Linked DNA regions of Homo sapiens: regions 1 and 3 are each linked to region 2. The links are contacts of gene promoters, found by promoter capture Hi-C in human tissues and cell types (Jung and others, 2019). All regions are on one chromosome and are shown on one strand. Each heading gives the region's core, a stretch centred on a gene start or on the middle of the fragment in contact. The rest is flanking DNA. Distances are from core to core; before and after follow the strand shown. Region 1 overlaps LCMT1-AS1 (LCMT1 antisense RNA 1). Region 2 holds the start of TNRC6A (trinucleotide repeat containing adaptor 6A). Region 3 overlaps ARHGAP17 (Rho GTPase activating protein 17).

The links. Contacts are between HindIII fragments. The study calls those that stand out against the background at their distance.
Region 1: a fragment that was not itself captured here is called in contact with the fragment with the promoter of TNRC6A in region 2 in 1 of the 25 tissues and cell types used here (dorsolateral prefrontal cortex).
Region 3: a fragment that was not itself captured here is called in contact with the fragment with the promoter of TNRC6A in region 2 in 1 of the 25 tissues and cell types used here (lymphoblastoid cells).

Annotation. Positions count from the first base shown.
Region 1 is chr16:25,106,226-25,109,174 of GRCh38, reverse strand. All of the region lies in intron 1 of LCMT1-AS1 (LCMT1 antisense RNA 1), which reads left to right. Among named protein-coding and RNA genes, the nearest start is that of LCMT1-AS1, 3.9 kb to the left of the region's middle. RefSeq lists enhancers at 1,950-2,149, 1,654-2,153, 2,154-2,655. The HindIII fragment of the contact is 3,214 bases long and covers 1-2,949 here.
Region 2 is chr16:24,728,108-24,730,965 of GRCh38, reverse strand. TNRC6A (trinucleotide repeat containing adaptor 6A) reads right to left here and starts at 1,315. Exons shown (of 25, transcript NM_014494.4): 1 at 1,120-1,315; 2 at 666-713. The coding sequence starts at 1,124. RefSeq lists a silencer at 977-1,286. The HindIII fragment of the contact is 13,221 bases long and covers 1-2,858 here.
Region 3 is chr16:25,004,046-25,006,772 of GRCh38, reverse strand. The region is part of intron 1 of ARHGAP17 (Rho GTPase activating protein 17); the gene reads left to right. Among named protein-coding and RNA genes, the nearest start is that of ARHGAP17, 10 kb to the left of the region's middle. The HindIII fragment of the contact is 4,980 bases long and covers 1-2,727 here.

The sequences.
Region 1 (2,949 bases), core at 309-2,808, 380 kb before region 2:
GCAGTGAGCTGAGATCGTGCCATTGAACTCCAGCTTAGGGGACAAGAGCAAAACTCCGTCTCAAAAAACAAACAAAAAGCTGGCATGGTGGCTCATGCCTGTAATCCCAGTACTTTGGGAGGCCGGGGCAAGTGGATCACCTGAGGTCAGAAGTTCGAGACCAGCCTGACCAACATGGTGAAACCCCATCTCTACTAAAAATAAAAATTAGCCAGGCATGATGGCGCATGCCTGTAATCCCAGCTACTCCGGAGGCTGAGGCAGGAGAATTGCCTGAACCCTGAAGGCAGGGGTTGTGGTGAGCCGAGATTGCGCTATTGTACTCCAGCCTGGGCAACAAGAGCGAAACTGTCTCCAAAAAAAAAAAAAAAAAGCTACAGCTTCTTATGGAAAACTAAGCTTCTCTCCTGGCCAGGCGTGGTGGCTCACACCTGTAATCCCAGTCACCGAGGCGGGATTTGGGAGGCCGAGGCGGGTGGATCATGAGGTCAGGAGTTCAAGACCAGCCTGGCCAACATGGTGAAACTCCATCTCTACTAAAAACACAAAAAATGGCTGGGCATGGTGGTGCGCGCCTGTAGTCCCAGCTACTCAGGAGGCTGAGGCAGAAGAATCGCTTAAACCCAGGAGGCAGAGGTTGCAGTGAGCCGAGATCGTGCCACTGCACTCCAACCTAGGCAACAAGAGCGAAAGTCTGTCTCGAAAAAAAGAAAAAGAAAAAGAAAAAAAAGCAAGGCTCCTTGCCTGACTCTAGGGGTGGAAACTTGCCAAGGTCTGGCCAATTGGCACCCAAAATCACCTTGTCATGCTTCAGAGGGTGGTGGGGATTGGGGGAAGGGCTAACCAGGTTGTTCCAATCAGAATGAATCCCAGGAGTTGAATGGAAGTTGCTCAGTTTATTAGCAGAGCTCTCTTTTTTGCCACACTTGAACTTGGTAGGTGCCATCAGGTGTGGCCTGTGTGTCCGCCACGTGGTCTCTGAGGCTCCCACCTGGGGGCAGCAGCAACACAACATCCTAACCAGTGGGTGCTTGAGTTCTACTCACTGATGTTCAGATTAGAACTCTTTGGTCACTGCGTCTAGCCTTGTGACCATCACTAGCTGCTTGGGACAGCCATAGAGACACTGTTAGGAAAGTGTGCCCCCAGCACAGTCATGGGAACAATCCTTTATGTTGTTTGTGGCAAGGAAGGAGACCATCACCCATCACCCCAGGAAGATTTAGGAATGGCTCCCTGCCTGTGTCCTAACAGTAATTGTTCTAGCAAGGGTAGTGATGTTTCCTGTGGCACTGTTGCGCTGCTGCTGCTCTCTGTTCTTCTGACCCCTAAGAAATGCACATCCCTGGCAGTCAGTGGCCTAGTCACTGATGATGAAAAAAATAAAATGGACAGGGAATGGCATTTGTTGTTCAACTTCTCTCTCGATGGAAAACCCCAAACTGACAACCCTGGGCTTTGCTTCGCAGTGTTGCTTGCATATTTGGTCAAGGGGTTCAATGGCCCCAGCTGGACCCTAAACAAAATGAACTTACCAGGAGAGGACCCCAGCACTGGGGAGATTGCCTGGCACTCCCGTGGGGAGGAGGATGGCCACCCACGGGGCAGGCTGCTGGTCTCCCTTTCCCCATAACTTCCCTGAAGATCCACACCACGAGTGATCTGATGGAGACGAAAACCACGTGACTTGGAATTTGGAAGAGTGGAGGGGACCCTTAAAATACATGAGAATCCCACTAAATTTCAATGTGGTAAATATTTGACTATTATAGCTAATATGTTCTGCCTGTTTCAAGGACCTCTCAGCCACCATCTGCCAGAGGGCAGGTGGATGGCGTCGCTGAACCTGAGGTACCAAGGGCTGGGGCAAAGTCACGCAGAGGCCACTTTGCTCTGCGCCCTGGTCCTCGCGATCTTTGCCAGATCGGGCTCGTCTGGGCTCGGCTCCGATCGGTCCAGCTGGACTCGGCTCGACTGGCCTCGGCCCCGAACGGTCGGCCAAGAGGGCGGGTGGACGGCGCGCCGGAAGTGACGCGAGAGAGCGAGGTCAATGGCCCGGGTAGCTACAGCAGCCGTCGCAGCCACCGGTCACCTCAGCTGTGAACCATGTAGGAGCCGTCTGGGTGTAGCCCTACCTGCCAGGCGGCGCCCCGCGGGCTGCCGCCGCCGCTGCCTTGAAGAAGCAGTTCAACCTCATCAGCAGGTGGCCGACCTGACTATGGGCCGGTCGGCTCTGGACCGAACCACAGCCCAGCCCGAGGCCAGCGGGACGCCCGCTGCCGCTCAATCGCCCCCTGGTCCTTGGCGACCATCTGGGACGGGCCGCTGCCTCCTCTGTAGCAACCCCTCGGGTGCCCCCTGCCCATTGTCCCTACCCCGGCGAGCATTGCCCTGCGAGGACTACACCCGATGCTTCTCCTCTCTTCCGGAGGACACAGCCAGCCTGGGACCGCTGCCCTGTGCTAAAACTCCGATGACTTCTGTCCCTAACGCTGTGCCGAGCGCTGTGCTGTGGGGGGCAGCATTGTCAGACTTTCCGGGTTGACCCGCTGTTGGGAGTCCTTTAAGTGCATGGTAGCAAGAAATAAAGGGATATATGAAAGCCAGTCGGATTTGCTTAGTGAATTTCAGAACGCCTGCGAGGGAATTCGGAGGTGGTGCAGTCTCAGAAACCAGTATTCCTAGGAACTTGACTGCTGCTGCAAGTTCTTGACATTTAGAAATTTAGAACTGGGAGACACCTTGTGCCAGTTTAAAAAGTCTTCTTCCTCTTGGATTTGGAGACAGCTACTTCTCCATGTTCCTTTGGTACTGCTTGAATGCTTGAAAAGAAACATAGGCAAACAAAAATAATTTATATACGGAAGATGTGTGCTTATGGAGGGATAGCTAATGCACTGAACAAAACCTAGCTGTCATTAGATGGAGGGAGGTAACAAAAGCTACCCA
Region 2 (2,858 bases), core at 66-2,565:
GGTGATGCAAAAGCAGCAGGGCCCAACAGGAACGATAACCTCTTCTGGAGAAAAGATTTTTAATTATTTTACCAGCTGATAAAAAGAGCACACACCGAACATGGACAGAAATGGAGTTTCGAAGGAAAACAAAACGCAGCTTATGCTTGGTAAAGTTCAAGGACAAAACTGTGTCCAATGCAACAGAATCCGCCTGACTACAATGTATGGGGGGGGGGGGGGGGCGGGGGGGAATGCGAACACATAGTATCTTTTTATAAAAGCAACAATTTGAGCTACAAAGTAATAACGGGGAAGCCAAAACAGTTTGACAGCCCGCCATAAGGGCCGCCTCAATCATGAGTCACACAATGCCTGCAACCATTTACAATAGTAATTAATGCACAAGTCCCCTAATTAAATTCTAAAAGGGTGAGAATGCTTTAACTAAGTTTACAAGAATTGCTTTGCGCTTTTTTTTTTTTTTTTTAAAGAAAGAAACACACGCGTAATTACGCATCTCCCCGCAATCCCTCCAGTATTCCCCCAGGCCGCTTCTCCCGAATGTCTGCTCTCCGGGTGCGGAAGAAAATGTCACGGGGGAACTTCTCAACCCAGAAAAGGCGAATCGGAGTAGAAATATACGATTATCGTGGGGCGGGAGACGGAAAGCTCGCCCATCTTACCTGCTAAGATTTCTTTCTACGTCTTTGGTAGCTTTAGCTTCCAATTCTCTGAAACAAAAAAACAAAAACAAAAACAAAACAAAAACACACACACAAAAACGAGATGCGCGTGAAAACGGAGCTGCTGCGGCAGAGGCTCGCGCCGGGGCCGGATGGGGGAGGGGAGAGGACGGGGGGAGGGGGACTCACAAAGCTGCGGGGCTGCAGCCCGGACTGCGGTCCCGCGGCGCGGGCGAGGCGCAACCCCGGCCTGGCCCCCGCGGCGCGGCGCAGCGAGGCTCCCCCGGGCCGCCCGCTCGGCCTCCGCAGCAACGCAGCCTGCGCCCTCCCGCCGAGGCCCGAAGTCTCGGGGACGCCCGGCGCCGCCGCCTCTGCTGCCGCCGCCGCGGGTTGCGGGCCCTGCGGCAGCGCCCGCGGCTCCTCCCGCCCGGAGGGAGGCCCTTGTTCCGCTCACCTCATGTGTGTAAAGTGCACGAGCAAGTGGGGCGCGGCGAAGGAGGCTCGCGAGCCTCAAGCCCTCCGCAGCGCCGCGGGGAGAGGCCCGAGCCGCTGCACCAGCGCCATTTTCTACACCGACCCGCTGCCGCCGCCGCCGCCGCCGCCGCCGCCGCCGCCGACACCGCCGCCGCCGCAGGCCCCAGACCGGAAGTGAATGCCCCACTCGGCAACCCCTTCCGGGGGCGCCACGGCCACTGGCCCCCAAGATGGAGGCCCTAGCAACTGGACCCGCAGATTGGGCAGGTCCTTGGCAACCGCCCCGGCGTGTCACGCTGCACCCAGCCGGACCTCCCTGGAGGTCACAGCCTCCGAGGCGCCCCGCGGAGTGGCTGGGGGGGCCTGCGGAGTCCCGAGTCCAACCTTTTTCGGTGCGGCCGGCTCCGGTCTGACCGAGGAGGGGAGTCCCTCCCCTCCTCCTCCTTCTTTGCTGCGACACAAGTTTCCTACCCGCCGCCCGGCCCCTCCCCCACTGACACACGCCAAAAAAAAAAAAAAAAAAAATTGCCTAAAACGCAAATTTTACCCCAACTGCAGCCTGATGAGCCCGCGCGGCTTTTGAATTCAGCCACTTCTAATTATTTTTGACCTTGGGCCAGTTATTTAACCTCTCTGCTTCTCTGTTCCTCCTCAGGTAAAGAATGCATACCTGAGGCGGGTTGTGAGGCTTAAAAGCGATTTTTATCCACCGACCTTTGACTCAGCAGTTCCGCCTGCACGGATTTTCTGCTCAGGAAATAATTCTGGGTATCTGCAAATATTTCACCTTCGAGATACTAAGCTGTGGTATTGATGATGGTGAAAAATTGCAAACAGCCAAAATGTCCAGCGCTACTAGATGGCTTCAAAAACAGCTACTGGCATGTATTAGGACACTGTAAAAATGATGTGGAGGAATAATCCCGGCATGGAGGAAATGGTTGCAATAGAATAAATGAAAAAGCAGGTTCCAACGTAGCTCACACAGTAAGAAACATCTTAGTGTAGACACAGTAAGATACATACATGTAGATAGACTAAGATATGTATATATGTAGACACAGATGCATATGTGTACATTAAAAGTATACATACATACCTACATGTAGATACAATAAGACATACATATCTGCAGGTAGATACAACAATACACATACATGTAGATACAGTAAGATACATATTTTCACTTGCGTGTGTTCTTTCCAACCTCTCATCAAGCTTTTTCTTCTAATTTAAAGATAATTCCTCCTCTGTGCTTAAAATCTATAACCTTTACTTTCTCAGAAACCCCACTCTGTGGATCATCCCATTCTCCTTTTTCTAACCTAAGTTCTTCAACTGGCTTTTTTTTTTATTTTTTTATTATATTATCATTTTTTTTAGGCGGAGTCTCGCTCTGTCTCCCAGGCTGGAGTGCAGTGGCGCGATCTCCGTTCACCGCAACCTCCGCCTCCCGAGTTCAAGCAATTCTCCTGCCTTAGCCTCCCAAGTAGCTGGGATTACAGACACGCACCACTGCGCCTAGCTATTTTTGTATTTTTAGTAATGACGGGGTTTCGTCATGTTGGCCAGGCTGGTCTTGAACTCCTGACCTCAGGTGATCGCCCCCCTCGGCCTCCCAAGGTGTTGGGATTACAGGCGTGAGCCACCGCGCCCAGCTTCAACTGGCTTTACAACATGCTTGAATCTCTCCCGTTAAAAACAAACAAAACTTCCCTA
Region 3 (2,727 bases), core at 135-2,634, 280 kb before region 2:
GTCTGTGAGTCACGAGACTTTGGCCTGCAGGGTAAATCCAGCCCACCGCTTGCTTTGTGAAAAAGTTTACTGGAACACAGCCACTCACTACAGTGGCAGGGTTGAATAGTTGCAACAGTGACCCATATGGCCTGCAACGCCTATGGTATTTATCCTCTGGCACTTCATAAGAAGCATGTGACCCCTGCCCTAGGGCATTAAATGCCCTCACACCCTCCCTAGTCACCTGTCAGTCCCATTCTTTTTCCTCCATCATCTCAGTCAGGTGAGGAGACTGGAAATTCTGCCTCTTTGATTATCTTTTTCTTTTTTTTTTTTTTTTTGAGACGGAGTCCCTCTCTGTCACTCAGTCTGGAGTGCAGTGGCATGATCTCGGCTCACTGCAACCTCTGTCTCCCGGGTTCAAGCGATTCTCCTGTCTCAGCCTCCTGAGTAGCTGGGACTACAGGCGCACACCACCATGTCCGGCTAATTTTTTTTTTTTTTTAATTTTTAGTAGAGACAGAGTTTCACCATGTTGGCCAGGCTGGTCTGGAACTGACCTTGATTATCTGTTGACTTCATCTTTGCTTCCCAGAGGCCATCCTTCCTGTTACCTTAATTAGGTGCTCATTATTTTTCACTTGGAGTCAAATTTGTCTTCCAGTTGGCTTTGCTGCCTTGAGCTGGCTTGAGCTGGATTGTATCTACAATTCCCCAACCTTCTGTTTGACATGGTCGGTCACCATTTTAATGATTATAGCTGCTCACCTCTAAATTACTTTTTCATGATGAATTCTCTAGAGGTTAGAATCACTAGATTTATAGGAAATTAATGTTTATATCATGACAGTATTGCCAGGTTGTCTCCTAAGATGATAATGCCGTCATTTAGTTTGTAGTGCAGAAAGTGATGTTGCGCAATAATGTGTGTCATTATGCATGACATGATGAATATCACATTTCACCATCACCTTAGTTGCATTAGATATTGTCCTTAAAAAATTTGTTATCTATTTAAATTTTTTCCACTAAGTTCAAAATGAATGTGTTCTTACATTTGTATTTCTTTATATGAGTTTTCTCTGTATGTGTCATTTGTTTGTCATGGAATTAACGTTTAGTTATCAGTTTCATTGCTCAGTTACCAATTTAGTTCAACAAATGTCTCTTGAGAACCTGTCAAATGATAGGGGCTGGGGTTAAAAATATAATTGATCCCTGGGGACTTGAATGTGGAGACAGAGCTACAAACAGATAATCTGAATGTAACCAGTTTTATCTATTCTAGCAGATCTTAGGTGCTGTTAATGAAATCTTAATGCCATTCTTTGATGTATTTATGTACTTTAATATAAACAAGTTAGCATTCTTGTTCATAGATATGTTCCTCAACAGATACAGTGATGAAACCTTGCACATTCATGACTAGGTACAGATTTAATACAAGTTTCAGAAGATAAAGCTGATTCTATAAAAAATCTAAGATTTCTATAAGAAACTGTCTTTTAAATAGGTAGAGCCTATTATTTATAGCAAATAAAATAATAGGCATGTTTGATATAAAAACAATATTCAGGCTGGGTATGGTGGCTCACGCCTGTAATCCCAGCACTTTGGGAGGCCAAGGCGGGTGGATCTCCTGAGGTCACGAGTTTGAGACCAGCCTGACCAATATGGTAAAACCCCATCTCTACTAAAAATACGAAAATTAGCTGGGCATGGCAGGCAGGCGCCTGTAATCCCAGGTACTCAGGAGGCTGAGGCAGGAGAATGGCTTGGACCCAGGAGGCCGAGGTTGCAGTGAGCCAAGATCGCACCACTGCACTCCAGCCTGGGCAACAGAGTGAGACTCCATCTCAAAAACAAACAATATTCAGTTCATTTCAGCCATGCATCTTGTGAGACTGTGTTTCCTCTGTGTTAATTACAGCTTATTGATTATTTGCATTGGCTACTTCCTTTTGATTATCCCAAGATGTTTCTCTCTTCCTCTCCTTTCCCACAGCTCTTCTTTTTGGACGTCTTCCTTATCAGAGATACCTTTTGGTTTAGTAGTCAATTTGATCTCTCCTTTAATGTTTCATTAGCATTTCTTCTGTAGTTACTCAGTGTTCTTCCACATGGTTTGGCCAAATTTATACTTCTTAAAGAGTTTAAATTAGAAATCACAGACCAAGTAAACAGGTGCTCAAATGAATATAAATCTTAAATAAATGTACAGAAATTATTAAAAGCACCCATCAGCTGTTACCTGTCAGTGTGAATATGTATAAATCAAGCAGCTTGGATATCACGTGGTCATTGGATACTTTCACATGCCTGGGCTGGAGTGACCATTTGAAACCATGGCCAGCGGTACTTTGGGGAAATACACCGAAGTGTTTCTACTTCACCAGATACAGTGAGTGCTTGGATGGAGGGAGTGTGGGCACAGGCACAAAGCAGGGGAGTCTCTGAGATGTGCCTGGGGGTTCAGTGAGGACTCCGCTGGGCATGTAACGTGAGCAATCATTTTTAAACAAATTTTTTCATGGAGGCAGAGTCTTGCTATGTTGCCCAGGCTGGTCTCCAACTCCTGGCCTCAAACAACTCTCCCATCTTGGCCTCCCAAAGTTGTGGGATTACAGACGTGAGCCACTGTGCCTGGCCTTGAGTGATCTTAATAACTGGCAGGTGATAGAGAATTCCAAGGGTAGAGATAGTCCTAGGGGAAACCTAACACTTGAAGAGTTTATCCTTTAACTT